Linked DNA regions of Homo sapiens: all the other regions are linked to region 1. The links are contacts of gene promoters, found by promoter capture Hi-C in blood cells and fetal thymus (Javierre and others, 2016). All regions are on one chromosome and are shown on one strand. The core of a region is centred on a gene start or on the middle of the fragment in contact, and the rest is flanking DNA. Distances in the headings are between cores, read along the strand shown. Region 1 holds the start of KCNJ16 (potassium inwardly rectifying channel subfamily J member 16). Region 2 has its middle 12 kb from the start of LINC01483. Region 3 has its middle 390 kb from the start of KCNJ2. Region 4 overlaps LINC01483 (long intergenic non-protein coding RNA 1483). Region 5 has its middle 370 kb from the start of KCNJ2. Region 6 has its middle 350 kb from the start of KCNJ2. Region 7 has its middle 270 kb from the start of KCNJ2.

Evidence for each region. Contacts are between HindIII fragments. The CHiCAGO score rates a contact against its expected background, and 5 or more counts as called.
Region 2: a fragment that was not itself captured here is called in contact with the fragment with the promoter of KCNJ16 in region 1 in 2 of 17 cell types (M1 macrophages and M2 macrophages); the score reaches 7.4 in M1 macrophages.
Region 3: a contact is called between a fragment that was not itself captured here and the fragment with the promoter of KCNJ16 in region 1, in 1 of 17 cell types (monocytes). The highest score is 5.7, in monocytes.
Region 4: a fragment that was not itself captured here is called in contact with the fragment with the promoter of KCNJ16 in region 1 in 1 of 17 cell types (M2 macrophages); the score reaches 6.2 in M2 macrophages.
Region 5: a fragment that was not itself captured here is called in contact with the fragment with the promoter of KCNJ16 in region 1 in 1 of 17 cell types (neutrophils); the score reaches 5.7 in neutrophils.
Region 6: a contact is called between a fragment that was not itself captured here and the fragment with the promoter of KCNJ16 in region 1, in 1 of 17 cell types (neutrophils). The highest score is 5.4, in neutrophils.
Region 7: a fragment that was not itself captured here is called in contact with the fragment with the promoter of KCNJ16 in region 1 in 1 of 17 cell types (neutrophils); the score reaches 6.3 in neutrophils.

Annotation. Positions count from the first base shown.
Region 1 is chr17:70,073,675-70,076,666 of GRCh38, reverse strand. KCNJ16 (potassium inwardly rectifying channel subfamily J member 16) reads right to left here and starts at 1,442. Exons shown (of 4, transcript NM_170741.4): 1 at 1,277-1,442. It overlaps LOC105371881 (a long non-coding RNA gene), which reads left to right and starts at 1,860. Exons shown (of 3, transcript XR_934952.3): 1 at 1,860-2,992. The HindIII fragment of the contact is 12,238 bases long and covers 1,071-2,992 here.
Region 2 is chr17:69,580,537-69,583,528 of GRCh38, reverse strand. No RefSeq gene overlaps it. Among named protein-coding and RNA genes, the nearest start is that of LINC01483, 12 kb to the left of the region's middle. The HindIII fragment of the contact is 4,683 bases long and covers 1-2,992 here.
Region 3 is chr17:70,556,337-70,559,328 of GRCh38, reverse strand. No RefSeq gene overlaps it. Among named protein-coding and RNA genes, the nearest start is that of KCNJ2, 390 kb to the right of the region's middle. The HindIII fragment of the contact is 5,974 bases long and covers 1-2,992 here.
Region 4 is chr17:69,599,135-69,602,126 of GRCh38, reverse strand. The region is part of intron 2 of LINC01483 (long intergenic non-protein coding RNA 1483); the gene reads right to left. Among named protein-coding and RNA genes, the nearest start is that of LINC01483, 6.6 kb to the right of the region's middle. The HindIII fragment of the contact is 276 bases long and covers 1,377-1,652 here.
Region 5 is chr17:70,537,166-70,540,157 of GRCh38, reverse strand. No RefSeq gene overlaps it. Among named protein-coding and RNA genes, the nearest start is that of KCNJ2, 370 kb to the right of the region's middle. The HindIII fragment of the contact is 8,674 bases long and covers 1-2,992 here.
Region 6 is chr17:70,516,542-70,519,533 of GRCh38, reverse strand. No RefSeq gene overlaps it. Among named protein-coding and RNA genes, the nearest start is that of KCNJ2, 350 kb to the right of the region's middle. The HindIII fragment of the contact is 6,123 bases long and covers 1-2,992 here.
Region 7 is chr17:70,433,544-70,436,535 of GRCh38, reverse strand. No RefSeq gene overlaps it. Among named protein-coding and RNA genes, the nearest start is that of KCNJ2, 270 kb to the right of the region's middle. The HindIII fragment of the contact is 8,246 bases long and covers 1-2,992 here.

The DNA of each region.
Region 1 (2,992 bases), core at 193-2,692:
CATGCTGAAATTCTTGTTGAGAAAAATGCATTAAAATAGAATATTGAATTCCTCTCCCAAAGCAGTCTTTTCTTGCAGTTTCAAAGGTTGTCAGTCTTGTTGTATATGAGACTAATAATCTTAGATTTATCACAATTATCGTGTTCTAAAAATAAACAAGCAGGATTACATCTCTAAGTTACTCAGGCTCTCTTTCTCTTTCTCTCTCTTTTGATTTGAATTGAACTCTGGACCTTGTTCACTTTTAAATTCTTTTTGGCTGAATTTCAGGAATTCCTTAAATGTATTCTGCAAAACAGCTGTGGTTTGGGTACTTCATGTTCCTTTATTGGTTAAAATCTGACATAAAGAGTGGCTAGTCTACATTTCCCATACTAAAGTAACAAAGGTGCATTCATACATTTTTTTCTTCTTCAGGATCTGGCTCTTACTAGCCATAAGAGTAATATTTAGCAGAAATACTCCAATACTCTTTTTCTAAAGACCATTCAGTCCATGTAATACACATGATCAAAATTCATCTGGCTTATAGAAATGTTATTGTTTACTACCTAAATATACCAACAAGGAAAACTGTTCAATTATATATGTCAGAGAATTCGTGGCATCCAGAGAGCAAAGTTTTACAAGCTCACACTTTTCTGACTAAATACTCAAAACAAAATTTTAAGATTTTTAAATGATAAGAAAAAAAAAAAAGCTTTAGAGGGATTAAGGTGAAAACAAAAGGAGAAAATTCTTCACTTTCAATTTATGTTAAAATAAATCTAGAAAAAATAGATCTCTTATTTCCTTTCAATGATTATAGACAACTATAAAAAAAAGTTAACGTGTATTTTCTCTGAGCTTTTTAAGAGGGGGGTATAAAATACATATTTTTCAATATTTGCAATTATATGTTCATAAGTGCATACAGGATGCAAAAATCTGGTTTTGAAAGACATTGCAGAATACTCCATGTGGTATGAATATAATAAAGCCACTTTTAGACATTTACAAATATAATAGCAGGCAAGGGCTGTTTAACAGACTCTGTAAACACCAATGTGAGACTACTTTTAACCAAAGCTTCAAAATAACTTAAGGAATATGACACACTGTTTGATTCCTACTTAAAGCACTTGGATAAAAAATTAAATTATCTTAATTGCATTTAATTGATCATTAATATTTACGTTTGCTGGAAACAGAGTGTTGCTGCTCCCCAAACACAGATGCCAGCAAGAGCAAAACATAGGCTGAATGACATTGTATCCATAGCAATAATAGCACTTACCTTTATTCACTCTCCCCACAGAGAATCTATGAGCTAGGTGCTTTCAGCTGGGCAATGGTAGAGAATGCTCTTTAGTTAATAATAAAGGAAAGAAAAGCTCCAGACACCAAGAACCTGGGTTAACCATTGACACCGGTTTGTTCCTACAGTTCCTCCCTGGGAATCTACATAGGTAGCCCCTGGCGTCTTATCAAGCAAGCCATAGCCAGTCAGCTGTGGCAGTGATTACGTCACCACCTCTGTACCTCTGGAGGAGGTACAGTGTGAAGGTCACCCAAGTATATCCTGACTAAGTTTTTACTTGATCAGGGATACAAAGGAGGAAGATTTGCTGGGCCAGAACTATGCTCAACAATGCCTGTAAGTGACTCAAATATTTACAGACAGGATTGTTGAGAGACGACCTATGGAAATGCTCCTGCTAGTTTTCAGACTCTGTTGGAATAGTACAAATAAATCCCTTTCATCAGAACTCTTTGTCTACATCTTAACAGCTGAGGATTGGGATTGCATGCTGACGAAAAGCGAGACAGGATAATGACAGGTAGCTAAGCATCCATTCAGTCTTTTATTTACCAAACCTTTAATGATTATTTTTCCTGTGCTGCCTAGTTCCAAAGAACATGAGTTCACAGTTGATTAGCCCTCTGACTAATCAACATGGATGGCAGAAATTGGGGTTGGAAAGTCTTCCTTTCCTCAACCCCAGGAATCAGAGCTCGAGCCTGAGATGGTGAATACAATGCAGGCTGTGGTATAGGTTTTGCCTGGCATTGAGTCCTAATGGGTTAAATAAAATGGTGAGGTGATCCCGTGGTCAGTGCTCTCCAGGAGGTAGAAAAGTGAGTGATCAGGGAAGAGGTAGACTTATAATGCTAGAATCAAGAGAAAGATCCAGAAAATGTGAAAAGCAGCCATGGGGAACTAAACAAATAGCAACCCTAGGCTCTTCAGAACCTGGGGGAGTTGTGTCCAGGAATGCTCAATAGAAGTGTTATGCTAGCAAGGAATTAGTTTTTCCTTTGCTTCACAGAGCGGTGGCAGCCAGGGGATCTAGGGAACCACATCAGGCTTGGTTAACACTGCAAATTTAAGAGGCCTTTTCTAGGTTCTGACAATCGTTGCTGTTTGACGGTTGTTAGAGTTTTGTTTCCATTTTTAAAAGCATGAACACTTGAGGAAGTGGACTTCTATGTTGGCACCGCCACTTACTAGCTGTGTGACACTGAGAAACTGCTTAACCTTTCTGCAACTCCATTTTCTCAACTGTCAAATGGGGATGATAATAGCAACAACGACAACACCTACCACAGATAGATAATTCGTGTTCCAAACTCATAGCTGTCACTAAGGTATACATATTCTGATAGGAAGACCTATTTTGCAATCTGTTACACAATATCTGCAGAAGAGTTTGAACTCTCCAAGGGACCTATCTTTTCATTCATCCATAAATCTCAGGTAAGCAGTGAATGCAGAGGTTGCCTTTTCTGTTAAAAAAAAAAATTGAAGACTAAACAAATGCCTACATTTCCATAACAATTGCAGCAACTCTCATTGTGGTTTATCCATGATGTTGTTCAATATTATCACTTAATGCTGCTCAATTACTGCCTTGTTTGAAAGCAGAGCACACTTTGTTAGAGTTCTATCTCAAAAGACTTAAAAAAAACACACACGCAAAAATGGACAGGACTCCATCTGCTCTGCAAATAC
Region 2 (2,992 bases), core at 232-2,731, 490 kb after region 1:
GAACCACTTCCCTGTAGAGCATTTATTAGTATTAACTGAAAGCAAGACAGTAAAAGAGACCTTCTCATCCCTGTTGTTCTCTTCTTTAGAGGAACTAAATCAGTATCCAGTTCATTTTGAAGATAAGAGGGAGAAAGGAAACTAACACCCTGCCCCTCCTTTATGACAAGCCTAGTCCTGAGCTCTAGACCCCTAAGCCTACTAGTTATTAAACAACACTGTGAAATATGGATTATTATCCCGATACACAGACCTGGGCAACTGATTTGTCCTCTTGGAGTCTCAGCCAATGTGAGACAGAAGTGAGGCTTAAGTTAGTCTGTCCAGCTCCAAAGCCTGCCTAGAAGCAAGCCTCATATCCAGTGACAGAAAATGCCATCCAACACAAAAAGCAGAAACCATAAAGGAAAAGATGAATATGCCTAGCCACTTAAAAACAAAGGAAAAAAACATTGTATGGCAGCAAAAATGCAAGTGACAAACTGGGAAGATATTTGCATATATAAGAGAAAAATAATTAATACCCAATAGGAAAGTGATTCTTATCAATCAATTAGTAAAAGATAACCTCACAGGAAAAAACAATGGGAAAGGATTAAACAATTCATGAGAGACAGATTTAAATAGCTCACAAATATACACAAAGATACTCAAGTTACCCAATAACAAATAGGACAGCCAAAGTAACAAAGATTGAGAAGCAGGCAAACAAAACCCTCTGTTGGCAAGAGTTTGAGAAAATGGAAATTTATATACACCTTTGTAGAAACTGTAAATTGGTACTGTCTTCCTGGAGAAATGGGTGTCTGTAGTTGATAATAATATACTGTGTACTTGAAAAACTGCTAAGGATGTAGATGTTAAATGTTCTCACAACAAAAGTAAGTATATTGTGGTAATGGAGATGTTAACTAGCTTCATTTAACCACTTCACGACGTATGCATATATCAAAACGTCGCATACCATAAATATATATAATTTTCATTCATCAGCTATAACTTAATTTTAATTTAATTGTGTATGCCTTGAGTCAGTAATTACACATTTAGAATTTAATCTGAATGATAATGATAGAAAAGTTCACTCATAAATGTAGGAGGAAATTAGTGGCACTAATATTGATAATACCTCTCCAAAAATAATATCAATAGGCAAGTGGTTGAATTATAATAGCCCAAAAATGAATTCCGATATTGAAAAAGATACTGCATGCTCATATATTTTTCTATTTTTATATATTTCTATTTCATTTGAATATATATAGATACATATATATTCATTTCAGAATCAGAAAAAACAAACTATAATTTTCGAGATCTTTAATATACCTAGCACTTTACAAAATTTGCAAAGCAATTTCTCATATTTTATTTCATAGTAAAAACTAAGTTTTCTGTCCAATGATGTTATAGTGTGATATGATTTCATGCTGAAAGCAATACTTTCTCGTTTTGCCTGTGAATTTCTTTTAATTATTTCAAATATTTAAAAGTAGGCAGGCTGCCCAGGTGTTTGGGTTCAGCAACCATGATCAAAAGGAGAGGGAAAATGTGGTTTTCTTTTATTGCATTTCCCTTGAGCATCTTCAAGACCCTTTGAAAGAACAGCTGCCTAGCCCAGGCAACCTCTCTTCTTAGCCTACACGGAAGAAATGAAATTCACTCCCAAAGTGCGGGTGTTTTCAGGACCCAGTGAACTGGAACTTGCAGCGTCTTCTGCAAGCTCCGTTGGGCCGGCCTTTCATGTGAGCAGGAAGGAAATGACTGACAACTTTCTCGTCTTTATGGAAGGCGGACTTTATTTCCAGCTCTCAGGTCAAAAGGCGGCGGAAAGAAAACAAAACCACTAAGAGATAAAGGCTAAAAATAATGTCCTGTGGGGTGAATCAACCCAGTTTGGGACCCTGAAGACAGCAACAAGGCAAGGATGTGCGTAGGGCTAAATCTGCGTCATCCTTCACAGGTGGTCGTGACCAGAATCAAAATGCCTGGGCAAGAGAGGAAGAAGTTCTGCAAACAGGTGTGCTGGAGGGAAGGCGTGGGGAGGGGAGAGGAAGAAGCCATTGAGTCGATCCTGGGCTTGAAGCCCACACACTTTCCCAGCAGTTCACCTCCGGGAGAGCCCAGGGACTGGACATGGCCTCGGAAGGAGCTAAAAGTTGATTTGGGGTTTTGTGGTTTGGGTGAATGCACTTTCAGTTTAAAATATAAATAGATGTGTTTATGCAGTTGGGCTTTCTTTCTCTTTGCTTTTAATTGTCACTTTAGAAGAAATAAGTCTATGATTCACAGGCTAATGCCAAAAAAAAAAAAAAAAGGAGTTCTCATTGGGTGATTTCCTACTTTATAGGAAGCAATGGGAGAATGGGTTTAAAAGTCACACGAAAGACATCCGCTAAGGACTTTGATGATGAGTATAAGAATGATTCATTTTATTTATATAGCACTTTAATTGTGTTTTTAGTCACATTCTAATTTGGACACACAACTATTCCAGGAGATAGATAAGGTGATTATTATTCATCGTATTTTACAAGTTAGAAAACAGAGGTCAGATAAGTTAAAGATTGCACGTTCCCTTATAGACTGAGCTATAATACACACACACACACACACACACACACACACACACACACACGAGGCAGAATCATTATCATTATTTCCCTAACTGCACCACTGGGCAAACCTCCAAAGGGGAAAACTGGTATTAGATGCTGCTAAGGAGAATAGCGCAAAAAAAAAAATACTGAGTACAAGAAGTATGAGAAGGATTCTAGCCTACATGGATTTAAAAACAAACTAAATCCCAACGGGATTTGAGCAGTGCTACCTTACAAGGTCTTTCCAACTGGCTGCTAAATATTTCCACCAGAATGTGCCACTAGTCCTAGATACCACGTCTATATGTACTAAACAAGACTGATCATCTTTCTTTATCCTTCTCCTTCCTTCCATTTCTATGTTAATGATGTCACTGTTTTCCCAGACTCCC
Region 3 (2,992 bases), core at 176-2,675, 480 kb before region 1:
AACATGCAGCATTTTTCATGAATACTTTATATAATAAATCTTAATTTTCTCACACAAACAGAGGTCCCAATTGTACATTCATAAAGACAAAAAGCCTTATAAATAAAATAGCAAAAGAAGAAACATCACATTAATAATTATAAAAATCTCATCCATGATAGAATTAGTTATACAGAAAACAGATATTCAGATTCGGTTGTATTCCAGGCACAAGACTTTACAGTGGGGATAAATAAGGTCCTTGTCGTCACAGTCTGAGTCCGGTAAACATACAAATTGATTAGTACTTACCAAGGAATGTGGTAACTGCTAAGCTGAAGGAAACACATGGTGCTTTGGGAGGAAGTAGGAGAGATCTCTAACCAGATTGGGGAGAACATGTAAGAAGGAGACCAAGTGGGGAATTTAATGAATAATAAGAAAACTGTGGATAATTAGTGAGGTGTACATGAATATATAAAGGTTTGGGTAAGGAATCCAAAAGAAAGATAAGCCAAGAGAAGTCAGAGAAGTCGATATGAAAAATTGGGTTAGCCATGTTAAAGATTAGGCGGATGTTATCTGTTTGAAATGGTGAGCCTTTTAGAGTATAAACTTTTTGGGCATGAGATTTTTATGATTATATTTTTGTTTTAGAAAGACCACTTTAGATGCCATCTTTAAAATATGTATGCATATACTCAAATGCATATACTTAAGTAGCATCAAAGAAAATGTCTCATGATCACTTTCTGTCACTAGCATTTCTCCCTTTAATAGCAAAGAGTAATTTTGCACAACTTTGTTTATTCTATAAGGGGTATTATACAATATGTACACTCTTGAGTCTGGCTTCTTTTACTCAACATGATGTTTTGAGATTCGTCCATGTTGTTGCATACAATTACAAATAATTTACTGCCATTGTTGGATATTACTCTAATGTATGATTAGACAACAATTTATATATCCATTCTATTGTCAATAAATATTTGGGTAGTTTTTACTTCACAGTGGACTGTTACAACTATTAATTTTAATCCTTTGAAATAAAAATAAATCTTGGATGTCACAATATTTATAAGTTCAACTTTCCTCCAAGCTGGCCAAGCTACCATGTGCCCACACCTTGGGCTAGGGTAGCAGGCCGACCCACCTCCAGCACTCAGTTCATTCCCCAGGGGCCAAGCTGCTGCATCCTTATGTTCTCAGCCAGAGAAACAGCCTAGCAAACGCATCCAATGTGGCCTTTCCTCTGAATTGGATACCCTGCCACACGTCTGCATGTCTGTACCCCTGGTAAGGGAAATATCTCAGTGACCTTACTCTGATGAGAATTTACATGTCTGTGGCCTGAGAATCAGCCCAGTAGGCCCAGTAGGGCCAGCTGGCAAAGCTACACCACCATGATCACAAACTTCCACAGCCTAGGCCACTTAGACACTTGCAAATATCTTGTTAACATAAAATATAACCTAAGAAATTGCATGAAAACTAAACTATATTACTGTGTCAACCCAGAACCAAAACCAGTGCATCTTACCCAGCCAATATGCTAGAGCTCATCTACAGGAATAAGTCTTTTCCTACAAAAGCTACTCCATAAAACTGAAAGGGACAAGTTTGCCACCAGATGTGCAGATATCAACATAGGGACATAAGAAACATAAACAAGCAAAAAAAAAAAATGACAGCTTCAAAGACACATAATAATTCTCTAGTGACAGACCCCAAAGAAAATTCATGAAATGCCAGAAAAATAATTCAAAAGAATGATCTTAAGGAAACTATACAGGATACAAGAGAATACAGATAGAAAATAGAGCAAAAAAAAAAAAAATGATTTGGGTATTTGGGTCAGGCACGGTAGCTCATGCCTGTAATTCCAGCACTTTGGGAGGCTGAAGTGGGCAGGTCACTTGAGGTCAGGAGTTCCAGACCAGCCTGGCCAACATGGTGAAACCCTGTCTTCACTAAAAATGCAAAAATCAGCCAGGTATGGTGGCACGCGCCTGTAGTCATAGCTACCTGGGAGGCTGAGGCAGAAGAATCGCTTGAACCCGGTAGGCAGAGGTTGCAGTGAGCCGAGATCGCGCCACCATACTCCAGCCTGGGTGACAGAGTGAGACTCCATCTCAAAAAAAAGAAAAAGAAAAAATTCGTGATTTGAAAGAAAAATTCAACAATGAGATAGATACCTTTAAAAGAACTAAACAAAAACCTTGGAGCCAAAAAACATAATAAAAAACAAAAAAAATTACAATCAATAGCTTTAATAAGAGACTAAATCAAAAAGAAGAATTTCTGAACCTGAAGACAAGGCTTCTAATGTTTATGGCCGCACTATTTACAACAGCCAAGATATGGAAATGACCTCAATGCCCATCTACAGGTGAATGGAAAAGGAAAATGTTTATATATATATATATGTGTGTGTGTGTGTGTGTGTGTGTGTGTGTGTGTGTATATATATATATATATATATATATATATATATATATATATGTAAAATAACAAATTAGAAAACCTAAAGGACATAGGTAAATTCCTGGATACATATAACCTACAAGACTGAACAAAGAAATAAAAAGTTTTACATATAGATGTGATTTTATATATACATATATAATTATATTACTTTCCATAATGGCTATACACACACACACACATATATATATACACACACACACACATATATAAACAACTATATTATAAATACATATTACTCCATTATATATAATTATAATATAGAATGGAATATTCAGTCATTAAAAAAGAGTAACATTCTATCATTAGTGGCAATGTGGATGAATCTGTAGGACACTGTGTTAAGTGAAATAAGCCAGGTTCAGAAAGATAAACACTGCATGTTCTCACTCATATATGGAAGCTAAAATGTCAATCTCATAGAAGTAGAGAGTAGAATAGTGGTTACTAAAGGATGAAAAGTGAGCAGGGATAAGGAGACGTTGTTTAACCAAAACAAAATTACAGCAAGATAGAAGGAATAAGT
Region 4 (2,992 bases), core at 265-2,764, 470 kb after region 1:
GAAATACCCAAATCTGCAAAATGAAGTATTTTGAGTATTCACCAGCAAAGTATATGCATGTCTAGGAAACCTCACAGTTGAATTTCAGGGAATATATCATAGCTTTGCACGATTTTTTAAAAATCGTACTTTCCTTTAGAAATAATTTTGTTTCTGTCTTTTTGTTTGTTTGTTTGTGTGAAATAGTCTTACTTTGGAGTGCAGTGACATGATCTTGGCTCACTGCAGCCTTGACCTCCTAGGCTCAAGCGATCCTCCTGCCTCAGCCTCATGAGTAGCCAGGACTACAGGCCCATGCCACCACACCCAGCTAATGTTTTGTATTTTTAATACAGACAGGTTTTTGCTATGTTGACCAGGCTGGTCTTGAACTCCTAACTTCAAGTGATCTGCCTGCCTCGACCTCCCAAAGTGCTGTGATTACAGGAGTGAGCCACCATGCCCAGACTTGTTTCTGACTATTAAAGCAACCCATGGCCATTGAGAAAATTGTAGGTAGTATCAAAAAGTAGTAGGAAAAAAATAATAAACATCCATAATGCTATCAAAAAGGGTAGCTACAAGAAATATCTGAACGTATCTTTTTGTAGTAATTTTGTCATCAACATATTCATCCATAGCTGATTTTATGAGCATACACTGTGTAGTCAGATAGGGCCACACACTCAGAAGAATCCCATTCTTGGTTTAATCCTCTCCTATCACCGTCTTGAAATTCTTAATAATTTTTGAAAAAGAGATTTCAAATTTTTATTTTGCAAAGAGCCCTACAACTATGTAGCCAGAGTCCTGAATGCAGGTATGTCTGTTTCTTGGTACGTATCTGTGTATAAAAACATGGAAGCCAGGCACGGTGGCTCACACCTGTAATCCCAGCACTTTGGGAGGCTGAGGCGGGCGGATCACAAGGTCAGGAGATCGAGACCATCCTGGCTAACACGGTGAAACCCCGTCTCTACTAAAAATAGAAAAAAAAAATTGGCCTGGCGTGGTGGCGGGCGCCTGTAATCCCAGCTACTCCAGAGGCAGAGGCAGGAGAATGGCGTGAACCCGGGAGGCAGAGCTTGCAGTGAGCCGAGATCGTGCCACTGCACTCCAGCCTGAGCGACAGTGCAAGACTCCGTCTCAAAAAAAATATATATATATATGGAAGTAGCTATATATGTATGCATGCATTAGTATCCCAAGCATATTTAGAATTATATACTTTATTTACATATCTTTATGGTTACCTATATTTTATCTATGAGCATGTCATGTTTTAATTAACTATTCCATTCCTCTTACATTTTCAGGCTATTTACATGGAGAGATGCTTGTCCTCAAAAGTTATCATAAGATGTGCTACAATTTTAAATACAGTGTTCAGAGAAGCTTTGCTAATGAGATGACACTTAACTAAAGGAGAAAACTCTCTAGGAATCTGAAGGCAGAATGTTCTAGGTAGAGAAAACAGCAAAAGGAATGGCCCTAATCTAATAGGTGGTTAGATATATTCAAGTCAAAATACAACTGTGGAAATTGGATTGAGGCAATATCCCCTAATGTAATCCACAGATGCCATATGTCAAGAAGAGTTAATGGATCAGGGATGGAGGAGGATGGGGAAAATAATTGAATAATAAAAATGTGATTAAAGGAAGAAGGAAGCTTGCTTGGATTAACCATACGTATACTAACAACTCAGTCTTGTGGACATGAGGTCAAACAACAAAACAATGACAACCAGAGCAAAGGTATCTAGGATACTGGCAAAAAAAGTGAGTCAAGAAATGAAATGTGTGAAGCTAAGCTAAGCAAGAAGAGAAGTAAAGACCAGAGGGAACTGATAGAAATGTTCAAAGGACCAGAGGTCATGAGAGGACCAAAGAACAGGTATAATAGGAGCTCCTGTTAGGAGTTAACCAGAAGCTAAGTGATCAGAGTTAGAGAGAGGGAACTCTGGGTTTCTGAAGTGGAACAACTCGAATTGTCAACATGGCCCAAGGTACAGTCATTGAAAGTGGTATAGAGGAGGTCATTGCGTTAAAGAGGTTATCAAAATTAACAACCAGGGAAAGGAACTCAACAATTGGCAGATTTATTTTTATTGCTATTATTATAACTCATCACAGCATTCTTAAGGACTGCAAGGAAAATATAAAACTATATGTAGAACAGAATCAGAGTCTTAGCAAACAAATGTTATCTTACAAAAGTAGTAGCAACAGGTTCTGTCTCCAAAGCGAGCTTGTATTCAAATCTATGGTGTCCGAAAGAACAGAAGAGAAAACAGGATTTCAGACAGATCATGTATTAGACCATTCTCACACTGCTATAAAGAAATACCTGAGAATGGGCAATTTATAAAGGAAAGAGATTGACTCACAGATTCACACATCTGGGGAGGCCTCAGGAAACTTATGGTGGAAGGGGAAGCAGGGACATCTTACATGGCGGCAGGTAAGAGAGAGGAGTGTGTGTGAAGAAGGAACTGTCAGACACTTATAAAACCATCAGGTCTCGTGAGAACTCACTCGCTATCCCAAGAACAGCATGGGGGAACCGCCCCCATGATCCAATCATCTCCCACCAGGTCCCTCCCTTGACATGCGGGGATTCTGGGGATTACAATTTGAGATGAGATTTTGGTGAGGACACAGAGCCAAACCACATCATGCCACTAATTATGCTTTTTCATCTTTACTGATTTATATGGAAGGTGCTTCTCTGTCTTTATCTATTTGTTGCTAGTGTTTTTAATGAGGAAATTTCACAACTGATGGTGCAAGAAAAAAGAATAATTATGAGGTCATCCTGATTTGGAGGGTGGAGAGGAAGGAGAAAAGGAAGATTAAGAAGATCTTGGAAGGAAGATGGCTAAACAGCCCTCACACAACTATGAGATAGATGCACTAGTGAATCTCAATAGCTAACATAAAGAAAAAGGGACTAGCTTTCCATTCTTTCCCATTTAAAACATTTCTACTTTGTTCCATACAGAATAATCCAG
Region 5 (2,992 bases), core at 207-2,706, 460 kb before region 1:
CAATAACTGAGTAGAAGTACAATAGCAAAGGGAGCCCAGTGGGAGAAAATAATGAACTTAGAGCATAGAGTACTTGTTAAGAAGTGGAGGTGAGGCCGGGCACAGTGGCTCATGCCCATAATCCTAGCACTTTGGGAGACCAGCCTGGGCAACACGGTGAAAACCCATCTCTACTAAAATACAAAAAATTAGCCGGGTGTGGCAGCGTGGGCCTGTCGTCCCAGCTACTCGGGAGGCGGAGGCAGGAGAATTGCTTGAACCCGGGAGGTGGAGAGGTGGAGGTTGCAGTGAGCCAAGATTGTGCCACTGCACTCCAGCCTGGGTAACAGAGTGAGACTCCGTCTCCAAAAAAAAAAAAAAAAAAAAAAAGAAAGAAATAAGAAGTGGAGGTGGAAGTAAAAGGAATGTAAAAGGAATGCATGGATAGAGCAGACTTTGATTCTCCCACAAGTACCTGTTGGCAGAGCTTTTGCATATATCTACATAAATTATGCAACCATTTGTGTGCATTCTGGTCACCAAAATAAAGAAAATAACTTATCAAACATTTAAATATATGAGAAAATTCCTAACGTTTTTCATCAATGGAGTTCTGTATCCATTATCATGTGAATAACTTTATGTACAGTGATCTCACACACATTTTTTAAGTAAAACATTCCCCTCTGCTATTTTGGAGACTCATATCTTCTAAGACGTGTTCTGAGATGAAGAAAAAGTTGTAGGTTGAAGGTTCTGAGATGAAGAAAAAGGTTGTAGGATGAAGCCGAGATTCTTCAATGCCTTTGCTTGGCAATTTGTCAAACATGTTGTGCAAAGGAAAACTTCTCAAGATGTGGTTGGAGAAACTGATTTTGTAGAGGAAGCAAACAGAAATAACTCCCACATTCAACGACAAGAATAGTTAGTTCAGTCCTCTCAGTCCTGTTTTTGCTCATTCTGCCAAAATCAAGAAGCTCCAAGAAATACATTTTTGAAAACCTAAAGAGAAATCTCTCTTTTTTTTTCCTACTGCTTTACATTTGAAATTCAATTCCATCTTTTCTTAGGCTAAGTAATTAAAATGCTACACGCAAACATGGATAAACCTAGCTTGATATTTTGGGTCAATAAAATCAGAAATAGGAGAACAACATTCAAATACTAACTTTAGGGTCACACTTGTATCTTCTATGAATATTTGTCTACATTACTTTTTAATTTCCACGAAACATGGTCATATTCTTTCCTTAATGGATCAGATACTTTTCCAGGAAATAATTCCCAGCTATTAGCCAACAAGAAAGGCAAAAGTGAAATGGCAACATCAAAGAATCTCAAATAAGAAATTACATTTTTCTGCTGCAGATCAAATAAAATTAAGTCATTTGACACACTGCATTCTGAATTATGATGCATATCTTTTTCTCTTCCTGGTTTAAGAAGCGGTTTTTTGAAAAATATTACAAGGCCAGGCACGGTGGCTCATGCCTCTAATCTCAACATTTTGGGAGGCTGAGGCAGGAGGATCACTTGAGCCCAGGAGGTCCAGGCTGCAGTGAGCCATAACCACGCCACTGCACTCTAGCCTGGGTGACAGAGTGAGACTGTCTCAAAAAAAGGAAAATAATTTTAAAAGAAATATTACAATATTTTAATTTTAATGTTATTTTTGCTTATTTGTTGTTCAAGAGGCAATTATAGCAATTTGTTTCTAAATGTAAAGGTTATGCATGTTATTCAGTTTCATGTTATCGTTCAGTTTCAAAATCAAGACATCTACCTCCTTTTTCTAAAGATGATTATTTTGCAATAAATATCCTTAATGAAGAGGGATTTAGTGGCAAAATACATATGAAACTAGTAAACTCTCAGCTTTTTAAAAATGTATTAGATTAAAAAATTTCACTTCCTATTGAATTGTCACCTAAACCAGCAATATGGTTTTTTCTAGTTTAGAAGCAAAGTATACATGTGTTTTCAAAAATGTATTTGGATTTTGTTTTGCATAAGGTATTCTGAAGCATTTATTTTAATAAAACAAAATGAAGTAAAAATAATGAATACCTGCCTGCTTTGAAGCACAATATGTATGAAATACTGGAATTTAATGACCTCCCTATAAAAAGGTTGGCTAAATTTTCAAACTGCCAAGTTATGTGGCAGAGTTTCCTGAAATGGCAATGCTTATCGGCTTTTACTATTATCTTGGATTACACCCCCCTTTCTCTTGCACCCCTCTGCAAAGCAACTTCAACATTATCCTCTGGGGCAATTGAACCATGCACTATACACCTGAAATTGTCCATGGATTTTTAAGGAATTTGCCTTTTAAATTGAGGGATAGAGAAAGAAAATCTTGCAAAACAAAGACAAATACCTATGTGGGAAGGAAACAGAAATGATAGCTTGCATCTTTGGTCTAGATGAACATCATTTACTCCCACTGAGAAGTTACACTGGGAAAGGTATGCAACCAACCAGAAAGGGAATCAACCAGAATTTTAAAGATATTAGCTACATATATCTGCATCAGCCACCGCTATGGTGAAACAATAAATGCTTTAGCTTATCTAAAACACTGTAACTCTGGCTTTCTTTTTGCTTTGTCTTTCAGTCTTTCTGACTTCACTAAATTGTTGAGAAAAGAAGATGAGTTGACTGACCTGCCTGTTCATGAAAGGAAGGCTCTGATAAGAACAGACCTATAAAAGTTTTCTTGGTTGCAAATGACACTGGCGGCCAAGTCCTCCAAAGAAGAAAATCTAGGCTGAGAGTGGCTTATTGTTTTTTTACTGAGTATAGGTCCCAGAATACCTTCTTAGTCATGACAACTTGCCAAGTCAACAGCTATGTTTGCCCTTCAGCTTCCTTCAAATTTACCACCATAATATGTTCTATCAGAGCCAATATATAAGCTCATTTTCCCCATTTTTTTAATTACACAGGAAACTACCATCACATGCAAATATACTTGCAAGATATTAAACATCACGTTTATTTAGCCAGATTT
Region 6 (2,992 bases), core at 275-2,774, 440 kb before region 1:
CTTGACTGCTGGTCTTGTCATGACGTCATAAAATCACTCTTGCTTTTGTGGAAATGGTTTTTCCACAGTGCAAAGATCTGATCTGGTTTATTTCAAAAGGTCAGGCTTGATTTTTGAACACCAATGTCTGTCTTTCTGTCTGTCCACCAAAGCACTGGACTTCATTTTTTATGTGAACAAAATGAAAATGAATGTGGAAGAAATGTGGAAAGGGATGAGCGGTACGTCATTCTTCGCTCTTCCAAGAAATAAAGATATTCTTCCACGATGGTTGAGGGGCAAACAGTTGGTAAAATTCCAGAATACCAAGTCACAAAGCAGAGGTACTGGGGATTTTAGATGTTGATAGAATCCGGAGTGAAAAAAAAAAAAGTTGGCTGCAAAGGAAGAGGAAAGGAAAGAGAATCCTGTGACAGTTACTGTTCCAAATAATTCCAGTGGCCACCCTTTCCTCACCCACCCTCGTGTAGAAAAAAATGGGGAAAAATGCAGACCGCTGGGCAGCTCATCTCAGCTTCTTTGGGCTGAAAATCTATGGTGGAAATTTCATATAAAAGTGTTATTTTATGAGATTATCTGTCTTTTATTTTTATTAAAGTGGCCAAACATTCCCCTAAATAGACCTTTCCCTGGAATCTTGGAGTTTGGATTCCTGTCCTGGAAGCAAAATGCATAGAGACTGATTAAAGTGGAAGACACACACACACACACACACACACACACACACACACACACGCGTCTCTAAACATTACCCAAACTTTGATTTTTTTAAAAAATTTTCTGTCTTAGATAGTTCCACTTCATTCTTTTTCATTCAAATCCTGAAGAATTCTAAAATATTTTATATCATAAATTGGCCTGAAAGGAGTCTATGTTGTGTATATTAGTTTGGCATTATACAGAATCCCAAGAAATAAGATGTATTTGCATTTATTTCTAAAAGGTACTTATACTTCAAGGCTGGGCACAGTGGCTTGCACCTGTAATCCCATCACTTAGAGAGGCCAATACAGGAGGATTGCTTGATCCTAGGAGTCTGAGACCAGCTTGGGCAACAACGTGAGGCCCCGCTTCTACAAAAAATTTAAGAAACAAATTAGCCTGGCATGGTGGTGTACGCTTGTAGTACTAGCTACCCAGGAGACTGAGGCAGAAGGATCAACTGAGCCCAGGAGGTCGAGGCTGCAATGAACCATGATGGCGTCACTGCACTCCTGCCTGGGCAACAGAGTGAGACCCTGTCTCAAAAAAAAAAAAAAAAAAAAAAAAAGTACACTTTCAGAAAGACTTCCAAAATTGTATCAGGCTTCCTTTGTTTTAGACCTTTAAAAGGTAGAATGATATTTATACATTTTAATTTGTGATCTGTTACTACCAAAGCATTATAAAGACATAAAGTCCTAGTTTCTATTAATGTCTCTTTATTTCAGCAATGATTGATTTTTCTAACTTTAAAATTCCCCAACACAATAAAAGACACACTGTCTTGTCATGAGTCATGTTATCACTGTGATTCAGGAAGTTTATTACAAAACTAACTAAAGACACACAACATATACAAGGAAATGATATGCTTGTTTAAACAATTGCAGTTAGGAAAAATGGGGAAAATACATTTGTTTGTCATTGGTAAACAGCAGTCTCAAAACACAGATGATCAATCTTTGAAATAAATAGTAATTCTGAGAACTATAAAGATAGGAGAACAAATTTTCTTTCCATCCATCCTCTGGACAATCATTTTCCTAGACTCTTCAGAAAATAATATGTTGGATGTTGAAGATGGATGTAGTACATATGGGAACCAATAAGGCTAGATTGGAAAATGATCTTAGACTTTTTTCACATTGGGTATTGAACTGTCCTGTAATGTCATAAAGAAGGATGTGTGAAATCCAGCTGCTGAAACAACGTCTGGTGGCAGGACTACTCCTGCACTCCCCTGCTATCTCTCTACCCAGTTCTTTTATGCACTTGCCTCTTTGATCCTCTCATTTTTAAATCCCCTTCCACTTAAGGTATCTTTGCATCATGTCTCTATTACTTATTAGTGTTCATCTTGGAATATCTCAGTTTTGAATTGTGTGTGTGTGTGTGTGTGTGTGTGTGTGTGTGTAAAAGAGAAAGAGAGCAAGACAGAGAGAGATTCCTGCAGTATATCTAAGGTCCTTAATATGACACCTGGTCTGGTTCAGAGCAATGAATAAAGAGGGATCATACTAAATCCCGGAACAAAGCAACAGAGTGTGGTGCTATAACCACGTGGCATGAAATTTCTTTCTGAGCACCCATCTTGAAAGGGTGGGAACATAATTGATAGTATCTTTATAAATCAGGGACCTAAGTGCTGGTGGAGTAACCTTCCTCATGAAGATTCCTGGGAAACAGAGAGTGAGGTATTCATTGGATTTTCATTGTATAAGTATGTCAAATGATGGTGCTAAAACCAAAAATCACTACCTGGGTTCTTTTATCTTTCTTTTAATTTTAATTTTTAGTTTTGGGGTACTTGTGCAGGATGTGCAGGTCTGTTACACAGGTAAATGTGTGCCATGGTGGTTTGCTGAACCTATCGACCCATCACCCAGTTATTAAGTCCAGCATGCATTAGCTATTTTTCCTAATGCTTCCTTTCCCCACCCCACACCCCAACAGGCCCCAGTGTGTGTACCTGAAGTTCTTCAGTGTTATAAGGGTTAGGTACATGACCTGATAATTCCAACAATACTTTCCCACTTGTTTCCACTCTAATTTTTACTATTTTTTGCTGTCCTTTCAACCTCTATACCCCACTGTCTCGGTTAGGCAACCTAAAATAACATACTGGAGGATGTTATTAAAGAAGAATTAGACCACTGGGAAGTTTATATTCACATTTACTGTGGGGTTCTTTGGGAATTTAAAAGCTGATAGATATCACTGGATGCCACTTCAATTTCATGGATGCTCTGTAAGTTACTGCAATTTTTCACCATTTATATACAGCAGGGAC
Region 7 (2,992 bases), core at 339-2,838, 360 kb before region 1:
CCCAGCAATCCCATTACTGGGTATATACCCAAAGGAATATAAATCACTCTACTATAAAGACACATGCACACATATGTTTACTACGGCACTGTTCACAACAGCAAAGACTTGGAACCAACCCAAATGCCCATCAATGATAGACTGGATAAAGAAAATGTGGCACATATACACTGTGGAATACTATGCAGCCATACCAAAAAAAAATGAGTTCATGTCCTTTGCAGGGACATGGATGAAGCTGGAAACCATCATTCTCAGCAAACTAACCCAGGAACAGAAAACCAAACACTGCATGTTCTCACTCATAAGTGGGAGTTGAACAATGAGAACACATGGATACAGGGAGGGGAACATCACACACCTGGGCCTGTCGGGGGATGGGGGGCTAGGGGAGGGATAGCATTAGGAGAAATACCTAATGTAGATGAAGGGTTGATGGGTGCAGCAAACCACCATGGCATATGTACACCTATGTAACAAATCTGCATGTTCTGCACATGTATCCCAGAACTTAAAGTATAATTTTTTTAAAAAAAGTAATCTTTCTCCCCTAGTCTTCTGCTGCTGTATTTCACATTCTAAATTTACCTTCTCAGTTATCAAGATTGCCCAACCAAAGCCTAGTTCTACCATTGTTCTAAGACTTCTATATTGATTCCCCTGTCATCTGCATAAAGGGCATTCCTACCAGATTATCAGCTGTCTTAGCTCCTACTTGACCAATGAAGCTGTGCCAGTATTCTGACAACTTGTTCTTTACTCCAAGTTTCCTAATTTATAAATCAGGCTTTCTTACAGAGAGCAAGCCATTGAAAATAAAAATTTCCTGAAGGATCTTACTCAAAAGAATATTCTTGGTTACAATAAAGATTCTTGGTTACAATCCACAGAACCTGATTATGGTCAATTTAAGAAGAAAAGAAATGAATTACAGGGATATGGGTAGTTCACAGCTTAGAGAACCAGGTGCCAAAAATGACTGACAATCAATGTAGGCAAGAAATATGAGTATTGCCCAAGGTGGAAGAAGCATGGGCACAGTCACCCCGAGAACATTCTCGTTAGGTGACTTTTGGTGGTACCACACTTCTGGTACTGCCGCCATTAAATGCTAAAGCCCATCACATCTAAAGTCCTGGTGCTGCTGCCTTTGCCACACACCTCACAATTCTCACAGCAACTATTACCACTGTCACCATGAATAATGTTTATCCCCATAAAATTAAAGTGCTCTGCCAAGATTCAAAGTCCAGGGTGGGTGCAGCTGGTTGGCTTGTGCTCTAGCTGTCAAGGGTGAGAGGAGTGGCGTTTCTAGAAAGGGAACTGGGGTTCTGGTTTTTACCCAGATTCAGACAATGGGGAATTTCTTAGAAAAAGGAGAATGGTCTTCAGATGGGGTACACCCACTCATTCCCTCCCAGACCAATACTACAATTGGACTTGTGGATGTCAGAATAATGGCCCTCAAAGATGCTTATATCCTAATCCCTGAAACCTGTGAGTATACTACACATCGTAACATATGTAGGATACATACTACATGGCAAACGGAAATTAAGGTTGCAAATGGATTGAAGGTGGCAAGTCAGCTGATCTTAAAATAGATTATCCTGGATTCTCTGGGCAAGCCTAACATAATCATAAGGGTCTGTAAAAGTAGAAAAGAGTCAGAAAGGAAGGTCACAGTGATTGTCACATGAGGAGCTCTTTGAAGGTGGAGGAAGGGGTCTGTGAATCAAGCCATGCAGACTGTTTCTAGAAGCTGAAAAGGCAAGGAAGCAGGTCCTGCCCTATAGCTTCCAGAAGGAAATGCCGCCCTGTCAACACCCTGAGTTGAGCCTAGTAAGACCCATGTCAGACTCTGACTGCAGAACCATGCGGTAATAAATTTTGTGTTGTTTTAAGCCACTAACTTCGTGGTAATTTGTGACAGCAGCAACAGAAAACTAATGCAGAAGTCTTTGACTTATGTTCTTTTGGAGCTAATTAAATTTTCTATCCCAGGTGGCATTTTTTGTTTTCCTAAACAGCCATTAACTTACATTTAATTAACAGACAAAGACTTAGGCTATTTTGTTGCTATGGATTTTCCCCTTATAATTGCGAGAAGGGATTCCAGTTTTAATACCTACTCAAAAATTATATTTCTTACAATAATATTTAACCAATGTATGAAAAGAGCTTAGCACATTCAAAAAGCAAAGAACAGCTTCAGATAACAGTGATGCTAAACAGGCAATCAAAAGATTATTTCAAATACTCAGTACTATAGGGCAGTCTAGCTCTTAAAATTTTTATTAAATGTTTAATTGACTAAAAATAGCTGTATACATCTATGGGGTACAATGTGATATTTTGATATATGTATACATTATCAAAAGATTAAATAAATCTAATTAATATATCCATCAGCCCACCTACTTATCTTTTTGAATGATCTTTAATATCTACTATTTCATTAATTTTGAAATATACATTGCATTATTATTAACAATGGTTACCATCCTGTGCAATAGATCCCTAATTTTACTCCTCTTAACTGTAACTTTATGCTCTTTAATCCCTTTCAATGAAAGAGAGCTGTGTTTGACCTTATAGACTTTTAAAATTTCTCAATTCCTTTGCAAGTTACTGATTTTTAAAGGGCAGAAGGGGGCAGGTAATGATTTCTTATAGAGACCAAATAGTGAAAAATGGTGAAGACAGTTTTTCCTGCTGCCCCCCCACAATTGCCCACCATAAGTTATGAATTGTGGAGTGCGTGATTTGGTAAATTAGAGACACATATGTAGTTTTAGAAAGCTATTCATCCTTGGTTTGATTCACTATTATGGTTTCTTGATCAGTGATCAACAAATTTTCTGTAAAAGGCCAGATAATAAGTATCTTTGGCCTTACATGCCAGAAGGTCCCTGTCATAATACTCAGTTCCATTGTAGCAAGGATACAGCAATGTTCAGTACACAAAGGAGTTTGAGGTGCAGCCTAGATG